Linked DNA regions of Homo sapiens: regions 1 and 2 are each linked to region 3. Evidence: promoter capture Hi-C in 16 types of primary human blood cells and fetal thymus (Javierre and others, 2016). All regions are on one chromosome and are shown on one strand. Each heading gives the region's core, a stretch centred on a gene start or on the middle of the fragment in contact. The rest is flanking DNA. Distances are from core to core; before and after follow the strand shown. Region 1 overlaps BPTF (bromodomain PHD finger transcription factor). Region 2 overlaps BPTF (bromodomain PHD finger transcription factor). Region 3 holds the start of SLC16A6 (solute carrier family 16 member 6).

Region 1 (4,296 bases), core at 1,764-4,263, 330 kb before region 3:
GTCTCAAAAAATAAACAAAAAAAAAGCTCTTTAAAGGAAACGTGCCCGGCACGGTGGCTCACGCCTGTAATCCTAGCACTTTGGGAGGCTGAGGCAGGTGGATCACCTGAGGTCCGGAGTTCGAGACCAGCCTGACCAACATGGAGAAACCCCGTCTCTACTAAAAATACAAAAATTAGCCGGGCGTGGTGGCACATGCCTGTAATCCCAGCTACTCAGGAGGCTGAGGCAGGTGAATCACTTGAACCCAGGAGGCAGAGGTTGCTGTGAGCCGAGATCGCGCCATTGCACTCCAGCCTGGGCAACAAGAGCGAAACTCCGTCTCAAAAAAATAAAAAAATAAAAAAAATAAAGGAAACGTGGGCTAATTTATTTTCCTGAGAGACTATAAATCATGATGAAATGTTTTGGGAATATTTTTGGTACTTTAAATTATTGTAGAAATTTATAAATGTGTCGGATTTTGGCCAAAGTGGCTCACACCTGTAATCCAAGCACTTTGGGAGGCCAAGGTGGGCAGATCACCTGAGGGTAGGAATTGAAGACCAGCCTAGCCTACATGGTGAAACCCTGTCTCTAAAAGAATTTTTAAAAAAATTTTTAAGTCAGATTTTAAGAAATATTCTTATGGCCGGGTGTAAGTGGCTCATACCTGTCATCCCAGCACTTAGGGAGGCCCAGGCAGGCAGATCACTTGAGCTTAGGAGTTCAGTTACCTGAACAACACAGCAAGACTCCATCTCCTCAAAAAAATTAGCTGGGCATGGTAGTGAGCACCTGTAGCTACTTGAAGGGGTTGAGGTGGGAGGATCACTTGAGCCTGGCAGGTCAAGGCTACAGCAAGCCGTGTTTATGTCACTGCAGTCCAGGCAGGGTGACAAAGTGAGACACTGTCTCCACATAAGAAATACTCTTGGTCATAGCTATGATTTCTTTACACCAAGTTTGTTTGTGGATGCCAATCACAATGGGTTTGTTCCTAGGGTAATAAGGTTTGCTTTGATCATTTCCAAGAGTAAGTTGTACCACTAGATAGCAGAAGAGGTGTGCTTAAAAAGTATGGCAAATGCATATTGAGGAAGTAGTATGTTGGCCAGACACAGAGGCTCACGCCTGTAATCCCAACACTTTGGAAGGCCGAGGCAGGTCACTTGAGGTCAGGAGTTCGAGACCAGCCTGGCCAACATGGTGAAACCCCATCTCTACCAAAAATACAAAAATTAGCTGAGTTTGGTGGCACGTGCCTGTGGTCCTAGCTAGGTACTTGGGAGGCTGAGGTGGGAGGATCACTTGAGCCTGGGAGGTGAAGGGTACAGTGAGCCAAGACTGTGCCACTGCACTCTAGCCTGGGTGACAGAGTGAGACCCACTCTCAAAAAGAAAAAACAGAGTACAGTAAAGAAGCTGGCCAAAACCAAGATGGCGATGAAAGTGACCTCTGGTTGTCCTCACTGCTCATTAAAACTTTTTAAAAAATATATGAAAAGGGGCCAGGCAGTGTGGCTCACACCTGTAATCCCAGGACTTTGGAAGTCTAAGGTGGGTGGATTGCCTGAGGTCAGGAGTTCAACACCAGCCTAGCCAACATAATGAAACTCTGTCCCTACTAAAAATACAAAAAATTAGCTGGGTATGGTGGTGGGTGCCTGTAATCCTAGCTAGTTGGGAGGCTGAGGCAGGAGAATCACTTGAACCCAGGAGGTGGGGAGGTTGGAGTGCGCTGAGATTGTGCCACTGCACTCCAGCCTAGGCAACAAAGCACTTTGGGAGGCCGAGGCGGGTGGATCACCTGAGGTCAGGAGTTTGCAACCAGCCTGGCCAACATGGCGAAACCCCGTTTCTACTAAAAATACAAAAAAATTAGCTGGGTGTGGTGTTGCACGCCTGTAATCCCAGCTACTTGGGAGGCTGAGGCAGGAGAATTGCCTGAACCCAGGAGACATAAGTTGCAGTGAGCTGAGATTGCACCATTGACAAGAGCGAAACTGCATCTCAAAAAATATATATATGAAAAGAAAGTTATCTTTTAAAAAAAGAAAATAGTGCGTTATGTTGCACTACTCTCCCTGCAGTCTGAAATTCTAGACATAGGAGCATCATAATAAATAAGGCAAATCTGCCTCTTTTCTGCTTTATGCTGGTCAGACCACATTTTGAGTCTCAAGGCCAGTTCATGTCCAGTCTCACTGTAAGGACAGAGAGCAAGAGCAACTAGAAGAAAGCAGCCAGTGAGAGAGGATGCTTGAAATCACCTTCTGAGCAACCACAGAAAGAGCCCAGATGGGACAGGGGCAAGCCAGGAGGGACGCTCTTCCTAGCCACTTGGCTCATCTTTCAGTCAGCTCTCCTTTGAAGATAACTAGCAGCTTTCTAGTTGTTCTTACCTAGTCTTCATTTTGTTTCTAGTTGTCTTAGTTGGGTTTAAGATATAAGAAAACTCTTGTTTGCAACTAACTAAAACTCTCACGTTAGGCTGAACTGTGGAGCTACTTTGACAAGAGTGGGTAGTGTACCATCTTCTGGCCAGATCACACATTTACATGACTCTAATGATAGTCTTGTATTGTCTTTAATTGATAACAGGAAGAGCTGAAGAGAGACCTGAAAATTAAGAAAGAAAAAGACCTGATGCAGTTGGCTCAGGCCACAGCAGTAGCTGCACCCTGCCCCCCAGTGACACCAGCTCCTCCAGCCCCTCCAGCCCCTCCACCTTCACCTCCCCCTCCACCTGCTGTGCAACACACAGGCCTTCTGTCCACGCCCACCTTACCTGCTGCTTCCCAGAAGAGGAAGCGGGAAGAGGAAAAAGACTCCAGCTCAAAGTCCAAGAAAAAGAAAATGATCTCTACTACCTCAAAGGAAACTAAGAAGGACACAAAGCTTTACTGTATCTGTAAAACGCCTTATGATGAATCTAAGTGAGTAGATCTTTTTGAGCTCTAGTTTTTTGTCTTGAAAGTTTAGCTATTAAATTGGATTTTGAAGAAAATGAATATTTTGGGAGTGATATAAATGAAAATATTAAATTTAAGAGTAATGTTTCATCCATGGTCTTGCATGTGATATTCTTACCATTGACGCTAGTAAAGTAAAATTTGCTATTTCACGTGTTTGTGATTGTCCTTTGTTATATTCTTTTCTGTCAAAAACAAGCTTTCTGTTGCTCCTTTGCTTTCTCTTCTTCCCTCTGAATTAACTCCAAATCAGTGAGTAATTGATGTCTGGAGAAGGAGGTGTATTACTGTTGCCCAAAATGGAGAGCATCCTTTCTGGGATCTGTTCAAAGCCCTGCGAATACATGAAATCCTGGAAACCAGTTGAACATGAATGGTCAGAGGTTTTGAATTTGAGTGGTTCGGTTTCTTAATTGTTTTATTTTAAGCAGTTGTTTTTTTTTGTATTAAAATACTGCAACTCATATTTTTGTCAAAGTTTCCACTTTCTTATCAGAGACAAAAGCCAGAAAAATACAAAAAGTGTTCCTTTCCCCCATTCCTCAAGCATAACGTCCAACAGTTTGGCAGCTGGAAGCTGTTTTTGACAGTTGTGACTTGTATTTGGTGATATAAACAAGATTATAGAGGCACTAAACCGTAAATGTAGTTTCATTTTTTTGGTCATTACTATCATTTTACAAAATATTTAACTTCTACTTTGAACATTAAAATGTAGTCCAGCTTTTTAAAGCCACAGTTAACCACCATACTTTTTACAGGACCAAAAAGTCTGATTGTGCTTTAAAAACTGATCATTTAGAATCAATTAATTAGAATTAGGAATGCTTAATGCCTACCTTAAGTGGATACCTAATTGATTCCTAAAATAAAATTGTGGTCCCTTTAATGATGTTCAAGTTGCAACATTGAAGCTGCTTTGGTGGTGCTATCTAAATGATAATCTGTTTGCAAATGCCAAATGAAAACTCTTTGTTGGCAGATTGAGCTGTGTGCTGAATTAAACAGAAATCAATTTAGGCATCTTCACTTTTCATTATCTTATCTCATTGGAAATTATACATAATGTAAACAGTAGAACGTGATTCACTGATTTTTTTTTACTTTAGTTTAATACAAGTGTGCCTCACTTTAAGCAAAATATACTAAATGATTTCTGAAACAGGAGTTTCCTTACTTTTTCAGTTAAAAAGATTTGTTTACAGAATTTCTTTAAATAACAAGGCTTCTTTGGCCTGTTTAGAGTATTCAGATCACAGAAATTGATTTCACACACAACTTCTTTGAAATACCTACATTGCATAAAATGAGGCACACAGATACATGTGCCCATTCCATCGAGA
Region 2 (4,909 bases), core at 1,688-4,187, 310 kb before region 3:
ATAAAGCATCATTGTTTTCAAAAATGAAGGGTGCTTAATTGTTCCCTTTTTTCTATATTCTGTAGGTCTCATAACAACAAACTGCAGTCTACAGCTTCTTAAAGTTCAGCGTGTTAACCTAACATAAAACACAGCAAGAATCTGGTTGTCTGAACTATTTTAAATTAAGGAGCCAGATGTTTTTAGTCAGGCTATCCTGACAAGACTTGACCTAAACTTCGTTTTTATTGGTCATAACAGTCCAATTATATTCTTGGCCAATTTTGTCCAACGGACAAGAAAAAAGCAAAGTCAACGACACCATTATCTTGTCAAGATCAGATGGTTTTACTATTGTGGCAGAAGCGAGAAAACTTTGTTTATTGAAAAAAAAAGAAAAAGAAAGCAAGAAAAAAAGATACTATGGGGTCAAGTGTAACTCCATGGAAATGCCACGTCTGCTCTTCAGTGAAGAAGCTGGTTTAGAGTCTCACAGAAAACTTTTGACTGTATTTATTTATTGTTGCAAAAAAGACGCTTTTTTATTGCTGCCCTCATTTGTCAGCTAATTATTTTTTCTTATAAAATCCAGCCCCGGTTACATATAATCATCTGTATCTTATCATGATTCCTGTAGGTAAAAGTACAAGACGACCTCTAGATGTCTTTTCTTTCTATGAAAGGAGCTGCTATGTACACATGTGCACACACACACAACTGGGAATCAACAATGAGTTTATTGTTCATGGTAGATTAAAATTAAGCTTGCATAAAGGTTGGGCTAAGTGGTCCTGGACTACAGACTCTGTTGCCTTGAATATAACAGTACAATTTGTCAATTACTCTGCACCAGGCTAAAATGAGTAAAATCTATTTGAAGGTATCTTGTTTGTAAACATTTGTCAGATTCTAATTTTTTTCTTTTGTATTAAAATTCAACTATGGATGTATATGAAACAAAATAAATGGAGATAATTTTTCTCCCACAGACAGAGGTGTCTTTGAATGTGCGCTAATGATTATCTGTAAGCCTTTGTGGGGAGGGAGGCCTGCAAGGTCATGAAAGGCAGAAGAGTCTAATTGTGCCTGGATTTCTCCAGGACAGCAGTGGCCCCTCGTTTTATCATTCCCAGTCCATTGTCATCACGTCAGAGAAAAATCTTCAGGGGTGCTAATCCTGTTGCATCAGTTGATCATACTAACGAGAACGGTAATGCGACAAGATACACATTGCCTTCATCTGTACATTCTGTGATACCAGGCAAATTACCAATTACACACAGCTACTTATATTTTATGAAGGGCATTTTTTAGATGACCTCATCCTCTGTGTTATTTGTTGATTGGGTTTGTTTTCTGTTTGTTGGTTTGTTTGTTTCTTCCACGTAAGGAAAAGTAGTGTAAACAGTAGCGAGAAAATGGAAACCACAGAGGAAGATGTATTTTGCATGTTTTTCCTTTCAGTGTTCTTACACGTTGTATCACTGCATTGTGGTAATAGCTTCTATAAAATCTGCCATAGTTGGATTATGCAGCTTTGCAAAAATTTTTACTAGATTTTGCACTAACTCATATTAGCTTTGTCCTACCAACTTCTGGAATTTATCTAATTATTGTTTTTCAAAGTTTCTTTCCTTTTAATGTTTCCCTGCTATGCAAAACCTTTCCCAGACCTCAGTTTCTTAAAAGAAAGATGTTGCTACAGTTCCCGATTCTTTCTTATTACAGGCTCAGGTGTACAGGTTATTCTGGGTTAATTTTATCTAATGAAGCCCATTCCTTTTTGTACATAAAGATGTCACTTAAACTTATGCTTACAAACTAAAGACTAATCGCTCAATATGAAAACATGAAAAAATTTTTGCTTAAAGTATTAAGATGGAAGTAGTTAAATATGGGTTATTTTGTCCTTTTACTTTTTTAAAAAATGTTACATATTGTATGCACTGTGCTGATGCAAGAATTCTACATTTTAATGAGTTATAAAATTATTCTGCATCTCATCACGTCACAGTATTTCTGTACTATTTATTCATATATATAAATATATATGGGCTTAATCATTTAAAATTTGTTGCAGCAAGAACTTTCCTACCTGTAGGCAATAGATTGCTATGTTTTTAACAAATTGTGGCAAATTCTAAACAGCAATTCTTTTGTACGTAATAGGACATTTCATCCTAGAAAAATAAAGTAATGTTTTTGACATTGGATTTGGTGCAGTTTCTAATGAAGCAATGGTTGGTTGGTTAATATGTTTTCTATAGCTGTTAGCCTTGCCAAATTGTACAAAAAGGATAAATTTTATGGAAATCTGAAACCAGGAAGATGTTAATTTCATATGTGTATTTAACGGTATAAAGTGTTGTATAGTTTCTATCACCATACAAATACATAGACATTTTATAGTTTCATCAACTACAGAGCTTTAGTCCTTCAGAAGTAATTTTTGAAAAACATACTTCTTTTTTTTTTTTTTTGAGATGGAGTTTCACTGTTGTTGCCCAGTCTGGAGTGCAATGATGCCATCTCGGCTCACCACAACCTCTGCCTCCCGGGTTCAAGCAATTCTCCTGCCTCAGCCTCCCAAGTAACTGGGATTACAGGCATGCGCCACCACGCCTGGCTAATTTTGTATTTTTAGTAGAGACAGGGTTTCTCCATGTTGGTCAGGCTGGTCTCGAACTCCCGATCCCAGGTGATCCGCCTGCCTCGGCCTCCCAAAGTGCTGGGATTATAGACATGAGCCACCACGCCTGGCCTGAAAACCATACATTCTTATAGAACATAATGAATTCCAAAAGCTGCTTTTCTGTGACAAGCAGAAATCTTTGACAAGCTTCTGCTATTCAGAAAGATCTACATAATACAGCTATTTTGCTTCCAATAATTCAGGCAGTAAACTGTACATTTGTGATATTCTTAGGATGTTTCTACCCCAGGCCTTGGGCTTATAAATACATTTAATTTGCATCAATAGATTTCCTTGGCTAAAAGTATTTTCAGTACCTGTTATACTTTACCTGCCAAGTTCACAATCCTTGAAACCATTTCATGAAAAGTATTTTCCTATTGGTAAAGCTTTTATTCTCCTATCCAAATTCTGCAGGAGGTTTAAATAAAATTGTGGCTGGGCATGGTGGCTCACGCCTATAATCCCAGCACTTTGGGAGACTGAAGCAAGTGGGTCACTTGAGGTCAGGAGTTGGAGAGACCTGCCTGGCCAACATGGTGAAACCCTGTCTCTACTAAAAATACAACAATTTAGCTGGACAAGAGGCACACGCCGGTAGTTCCAGCTACTCAGGAGGCTGAGGTGGGAGGACAGCTTGAACCCGGGAGGCAGAGGTTGCAGTGAGCTGAGATTGTGCCACTACGCTCCAGCCTGGGTGACAGAGCGAGACTCCGTCTCAAAAAAAGTGAGCTTTTGGAGATATTTTCTGAAGGAAAATAATTACCTTTTTATATTTCAAATGGCCTAGAGTGTTATTTAGAGACACTAAGATTTGCTGTTGTTTGTAATCTACCTTCCTAGGATCTGCAAATAAAAGTTACTTCCCTATTTCTGTTAATTCCTTTAGGCAAACTCTCTGCTGCTTTATGTTAAAGAGCCAACCTGGTGGCCTTTCAGATCTCTGCACACTTAGACAAAGCTACATGGTTATTACAGCTTTCGCTCTTCATGATTGAAGCTATTACCGTAGGTCTCAGACTTCTTGTCCTTAATGTGAGAATGGTGATATTTCATGGATAAAGTAATGAAGTACTTGAGGAGGTGGGGGTAAGAACCAGCTGAGAAGTATTTTTAATAATTTGAAACATTCTGAGGTACTTCTGGATACTTGGAGCGAGATACTAGAAGATTTTCTCAGAAGATCATACCGCTTGATCCAATTTGAACCAAATTCAACTAAAGAAATTAGCTATATTTTCAACTAAAATTAGCTATATTTTTAAAATGTTAATGTCCTGCTTTATCTAATTTATTTATTGCTTGCTCAAATATTTCCTGAAATTGAGGTGATGCATTATAGGTGGCAGGTCAGTTTTTATGAGTTTGTTTCTATGTGTGAATGGTCAGCCTTAAAAATGATTTTATCCGGGCGCGGTGGCTTATGCCTGTGATCCCAGCACTTTGGGAGGCCGAGGCGGGCGGATCACCTGAGGTCAGGAGTCCGAGACCAGCCTGGCCAACATGGTGAAAACCCGTCTCTACTAAAAATACAAAAATTAGCAGGCTGTGGTGGCACATGCCTGTAATCCCACTACTCGGGAGGCTGAGGCAGGAAAATTGCTTGAGCCCGGGAGGCGGAGGTTGCAGTGAGCCAAGATGGTGCCACCGCACTCCAGCCTGGCCGATAGAGCGAGATTCTGTCTAAAAAAAAAAAAAAAATTCAAGAGAAATACTAACAGTGCCAAATGATGCTTTCTTTACAAGGCAGTTGTGAAGAGCTATGGGTCGGGCGTGGTGGCTCACGCCTGTAATCCCAGCACTTTGAGAGGCCAAGGCAGGTGGCTCACAAGGTCGGGAGTTCGAGACCAGCCTGGCCAATGTGGCAAAACCCTGTGTCTACTAAAAATACAAAAAGTAGCCGGGCCTGGTGGTGGGTGCCTGTAATCCCAGCTACTTGGGAGGCTGAGGCAGGAGAATCGCTTAAACCCAGGAGGTGGAGGTTGCAGGGAGCCAAGATTGTGCCACTGCACTCCAGCCTGGGTGACAAGAGCAAGACTCAGTCTCACATAAATAAATAAACAAACAAACAGTGTATGTGTTTTATAGACGTTTTCCTACCCAAAGAAAAACAAGTGCTTGGCTGGGCGCGGTGGCTCACACCTGTAATCCCAGCACTTCGGGAGGCTGAGGCGGGCGGATTGTGAGGTCAGGAGATTGAGACCATCCTGGCTAACACGGTGAAACCCCGTCTCTACT
Region 3 (4,633 bases), core at 1,557-4,056:
TTCCTTCAGCAGAAGGCCAAACCTTCTGTCTCTGCAAACAAAGCAACTGAGGCCTGAATTTTGAACTCATTTATGCAGAAGCCTCTGTAAGTTCCAGAATATAAAAGTTTATCTGTCCACTTTGGTCTGTGGCCATGTGAATTTATCTGACGGGTAGGGATATTTTTCAGCTGTGTAGGGATCTAACTGGTGAGGCGAGCTGAGTCATCCTGCCCATCAACCCCTGCTTTACGGATGATGGAATTTAGGCAAATCACTTCACTTCCCCATTTTCAATGTCAATGTAAAATCAAGGTAAATGTAAAAAAGGGAGTTGAACTAGACTCTGATGAGCTTAGATCTCTTCCTGCCCTAATAGTCTATACTTCTATGACAGCCTTTGACCGTCACTTGCTTTAATCCTTCTAAGCCCTTTGAAGGCAAGGCCGAAGAGTTGGTCTTCTTAAAGCTCTTAGGCCATATTTGTTAATTTCTGTGTACCATTAACTGGCTGCACAGTTATGGAAACCACAGAATCCTGAACTTCTAGAACTTCTATCATCTGTAAAGCATGGGTTGTCAGGGGAGTCTCTCAAGCCTTTTCCAACTTACAAAACTCGACAATTCTGAATGGGGGTTCCCGGCAGCCATCTTCCCTTCACCCTAGTGTTCTTCTGGAGGAAGTACAATGACACAATCCACGGGCAGTTTGGAGGATTTCCTAGTAGCATGTGGTTAAGTGTCCCCTTAAATAAATGAGTATTGGCCGGGTGCGGTAGCTCATGCCTATAATCCCAGCAATTAGGGAGGCCGAAGCAGGCAGATTACTTGAGCCCAGGAGTTTGAGACCAACCCGGGCAACATAGTGAGGCTGTGTCTCTACAAAAAAATTAAAAAATGAGGTGGGAGGATCGCTTGAGCCCGGGAGGTCGAGGCTGCAATGAGCAGAGATGACGCTACTGCACTCCCATGATGGGAGTGAGACCCTGCCTCTAAACAAATAAATAAGTAGGTATCTTGCCAAAGGCTTGGAAATCCGCTATCCTTGGGAGTTTCACTGTGATTTAATTTGTCGAGAGAAGATTTGGCCCGAGGGCATGAAAAAAATTGTATTATTGTAGACCATCAGAGTGTTATTCCAGGGTCAGCTAAGAGCAAGTTTCAAAACGCAGGCTCTGGATGGAAATGGGGTGGCTACTGTTGTAGGCAGACCTCGAGCAAAAGCACTGCGGATTTCTCTTCTTCTTAAAGGCGTAGCCCGGAGAACAGCTTTGACAAGTTGTTTCTGGCCCAAGTTGTCAAAACCAGTCTGTATTTGGCTAAAGTTCATCTGCATTCTCTATTTAAAAAAAATTTCCAAACCTAACCTGGATAGCTGCCTCACGATGTTGAATCACTGGCTACAACCGAGTCACCATTTTACAAGACTATGGTGTTGAAACCTGAGCCCCTAATTTAAGTGTCCTCCTCAGGAGTTCCACTGAGGAAAGTCCTTTTTCGGAAACCACAGAAGGAAAACTCAGGGTTAGTGGTACTCATTACACTGGAAGGAGCTTTTCCACTTGGCTGCATTGTTTATTTACACACTGTAAGTTCCTATTTTGGACACTCTTCCCTTAATTATGAGAAGAGGGGTTTCTATTATATCATCTGGCCGGATGTATTGTTGACCCCAAAAATGCCACATAACGGTGCTTGGGACATGGGGAGATGCATGGTTTAGAGATTTCAGCATAAGCACTTGGCATCTTTTTTACAAGCAAGACACCTATCTTACCATGATTTGCAAAAACAATCAGATCACTGAGAAATCTCATTCCCGGGGTAGAAACCATCTCCTGCGAGAAGGAGCTGGCACGGAGTGTCTAACCGTGCAAACAAAACCGGCTTCCAGGTTGACAAGTTGTAATTGCTCTTCCCCAGTTGGCTCCGGGGAGCTTTTTCTAAGACTGACGCCCCCCATGTTTGGTGACATTTTATATACGCCACCTAACAAACTTCTATGACCTGTCTTGCTAGGGTGGGGGGAATAAAAAGAAAAGACGACAACAACCTAGAAGGAAATAACCCATTTCCTCTGCAAAACCATCTTCCCTTGCTACGGAACTGCTTGGCGACACCAGCGCTTTCCTGCGGTTGGCAGCCCGGGAACCTTGAAGTTGCGCGGGACCGGCCGTCAGCCGCTGACAGTTCTGACAGTCCAGGTGGAGGACCCGCGCTCTGCCGGGAAATCCCCGGCTTCCCGCTGGGGACAAACGGTGGCCGCCGCAGGGAGTGCTGTGTTTGGGGGTCGGGGGAGGCAGGGAGCCCCACTTTCCCTCGCGCTGCCTCAGTGCCCGGCCTGCGTGCGCGCGCCAGCCTGGGGTAGGAAGGTACCTCTGACATTTCGCTCCTGCGACGCGCAGGCAACTTCATGCGGAAAATCCGCGGAGGGGCTGAGCCTGGAGCCCCCGACTCTTCCGACGTCCCGGAGCCCCCAACCCGGGGCAGGGGGCACTCAAAGGCCAGGCGTGCCTTTAGGTATCTTCCGGGACCCAACTGTACCAGGGTCACGGACATTCAACTCTCAGCTACCCACACCGGCGCGAGCGCGTCATCCCGGTGGCCCTGGGCATTCCTAACTGTCAGAGCGAATATTTTTGGGAATAACCTCTCCAAAATGTGAAGATGTTCAGTGGTCTCCTCCGCCTCCCATCACAAAAAAAGGCCCCAACACATATTTTTTAAAAAACAACCCACATCCCACAATCAAACTTTTAAACATGTAAAATAATAAACCAACTCACCAAGTTAGAAGGGAAGAGAATAAACCCCCAAAGGCTCCCAATAAGGCGGAGGCTTGGCCTCCCCCTCCTTATAAGCCGCTCGGTAACATGAGAAAAGGATTAACCCCTTAGGGGGCGGGCCCGACTCTAGCGCAAGTTGGCTCGGGCTGGTGAGGCCCGAGCGCCCGGGCCCTCCACCCACTCCCGCGACTCGGGCACCCGAGCCACACCCTCCCCCCGCCCCCCACCCCGGCCGCCTGCGACCCGGGCCGTGCGTGCTGCCGCCCGCGCCCCGGCCCCGCGTCGCTGCCTAGCTCTTATCCTATACCGGCTGCAGCCGGTCTCCGCCGGCCTCGGGGGCGCGCCGCCGCCGACCATGTGCTGCGAGCGCTGAGCGCAGCCAAGGAGGGGGCCTGCCTGGCGCGCGCGCGCCGTCCCACGTGGACCTGAGCCGCGCCGGTCGCGCGCCCGCCAGCCTGCCGCCTGGGCTGGGGGTCACGAAAGGTAACCGCGTCGCGGTCCGGGGCCGGGCCGCCCCCGCCAGCGCCGCCGGGGTCCTTGGCACAACGCCCCGATCTCCCAACCCGGGTGCGCCTCTGCGCGCGTGACCCGCCCAGACCCCGGAGCTTTGCTGCAACGCTAGTAGGAGCGCGAGCGTGCAGGGTGTTGGGGGTGCCTGCATCCTGTCTCGGAGCACCTCGGCCAGGCGCGAGCGCGCGGGTCCCCGTCCCCACCCCCGGGCGCCTTCCCGGCGCGCCCACCGCCCAGTCCCGCCCGCGCCCTGAGGATTTAGGGATTTAGCGGCGAGGGGGAACACGCGCGCGCCGGGGCTGATCCCGCGCGGCGCTCGCGGCTGCGGCGGCTTCGCGCCCGCCCCGGGCAGAACAGGTTCCTTCCAGTTTGGGTGTGAGCTGCGCGCGCGGCGCCTGAGTTCCTCCTGCAGCGCCCACTTCCCCCAGTTTCGTCAACTCGCGCACCCCCACAGTTCCCCTTCCGGCAGTGGGGAGGGAGTGTCGCAGTGGGCCCCAGGGAGCGAGCGGCCGGGCCGCTGCGGGTGCCTTGCTTCCCCCACTTTGCTGCACCGGCAGCAGCGGCAGCAACAGCATCCGCGTTGCGCGAAAGGAATGTGAGCAGCCGGGCTGAGTCAGCATCCCCGGCCCGGGGCGCGCGCGCACCCTCCAGGCAGTGGCGGCGTCGGCACAGGTGCATGGCTCCCATACCCGCGGGGAGCCCTCTGTAAGGGACCTGGAGGTTTAGACAGTCCGTGCCCCTCATCCCGTAGTCCCCGACCCCAAGGTCACCGTGAACTAAGCGGATGATGCACGCGAAATCTCAGGAGCTCCTCATGGGGACAAAGCATGTGTCAGATCCTAGACATTTCAGAGCCTGCGGGGGCGCAAACTTAGCTTCTTGGTCTCTACCTCACATCCCGAGGGCAAATTTGGAAACTGCTCGGAAGCAAAGGCCATGTTATTTGCATTCGTATGCAGACTTTGGCGCCGGCTGCTGCCTTCATTGGGGTTCGGAGAATGTGGTTCTGATGTCAGAAACTCAAGAGAGCCTAGTTTGGGAGTGCATGCACGGAGGGTCGCCACCGGGAGGAGTCGGCGATCTGAATTTTAATAAAAATCCTTCCTTGCTCGCTGAGTTCTCTCACCATTTTGGGATAGGCTCTCCTGAGTTAAATGCCATCCTTTGCCGTTGACAAGTTCTGGTTGTGTAAGTGGGGAGAAGATTCGTTGGTACAGGGTGCCTTGTATGGCCAGTAGTGTACAGCCAAGGGGCCGCTGAGCAGCTTTGCAACCTTGTAGGCGTAATTTAACCTCGTAGAGCGTTAATTTCTCCAGATCTGTAAAATGGGGATGGAGGTGGTATTCCCAGAATTGGAG

What was found. The method cuts DNA at HindIII sites, captures the fragments that hold promoters and counts their contacts. A CHiCAGO score of 5 or more calls a contact.
Region 1: a contact is called between a fragment that was not itself captured here and the fragment with the promoter of SLC16A6 in region 3, in 3 of 17 cell types (naive CD4 T cells, naive B cells and total CD4 T cells). The highest score is 6.6, in naive CD4 T cells.
Region 2: a fragment that was not itself captured here is called in contact with the fragment with the promoter of SLC16A6 in region 3 in 1 of 17 cell types (activated CD4 T cells); the score reaches 5.0 in activated CD4 T cells.

The regions. Positions count from the first base shown.
Region 1 is chr17:67,956,959-67,961,254 of GRCh38, forward strand. BPTF (bromodomain PHD finger transcription factor) reads left to right here. Exons shown (of 28, transcript NM_182641.4): 24 at 2,583-2,917. Among named protein-coding and RNA genes, the nearest start is that of C17orf58, 37 kb to the right of the region's middle. The HindIII fragment of the contact is 273 bases long and covers 2,878-3,150 here.
Region 2 is chr17:67,982,187-67,987,095 of GRCh38, forward strand. BPTF (bromodomain PHD finger transcription factor) reads left to right here. Exons shown (of 28, transcript NM_182641.4): 28 at 66-2,192. The coding sequence ends at 102. Among named protein-coding and RNA genes, the nearest start is that of C17orf58, 12 kb to the right of the region's middle. The HindIII fragment of the contact is 242 bases long and covers 2,817-3,058 here.
Region 3 is chr17:68,288,321-68,292,953 of GRCh38, forward strand. It overlaps SLC16A6 (solute carrier family 16 member 6), which reads right to left and starts at 2,807. Exons shown (of 6, transcript NM_004694.5): 1 at 2,766-2,807. It overlaps ARSG (arylsulfatase G), which reads left to right and starts at 3,175. Exons shown (of 12, transcript NM_001267727.2): 1 at 3,175-3,248. RefSeq lists silencers at 2,943-3,632, 2,999-3,173 and an enhancer at 4,033-4,262. The HindIII fragment of the contact is 8,812 bases long and covers 1-4,633 here.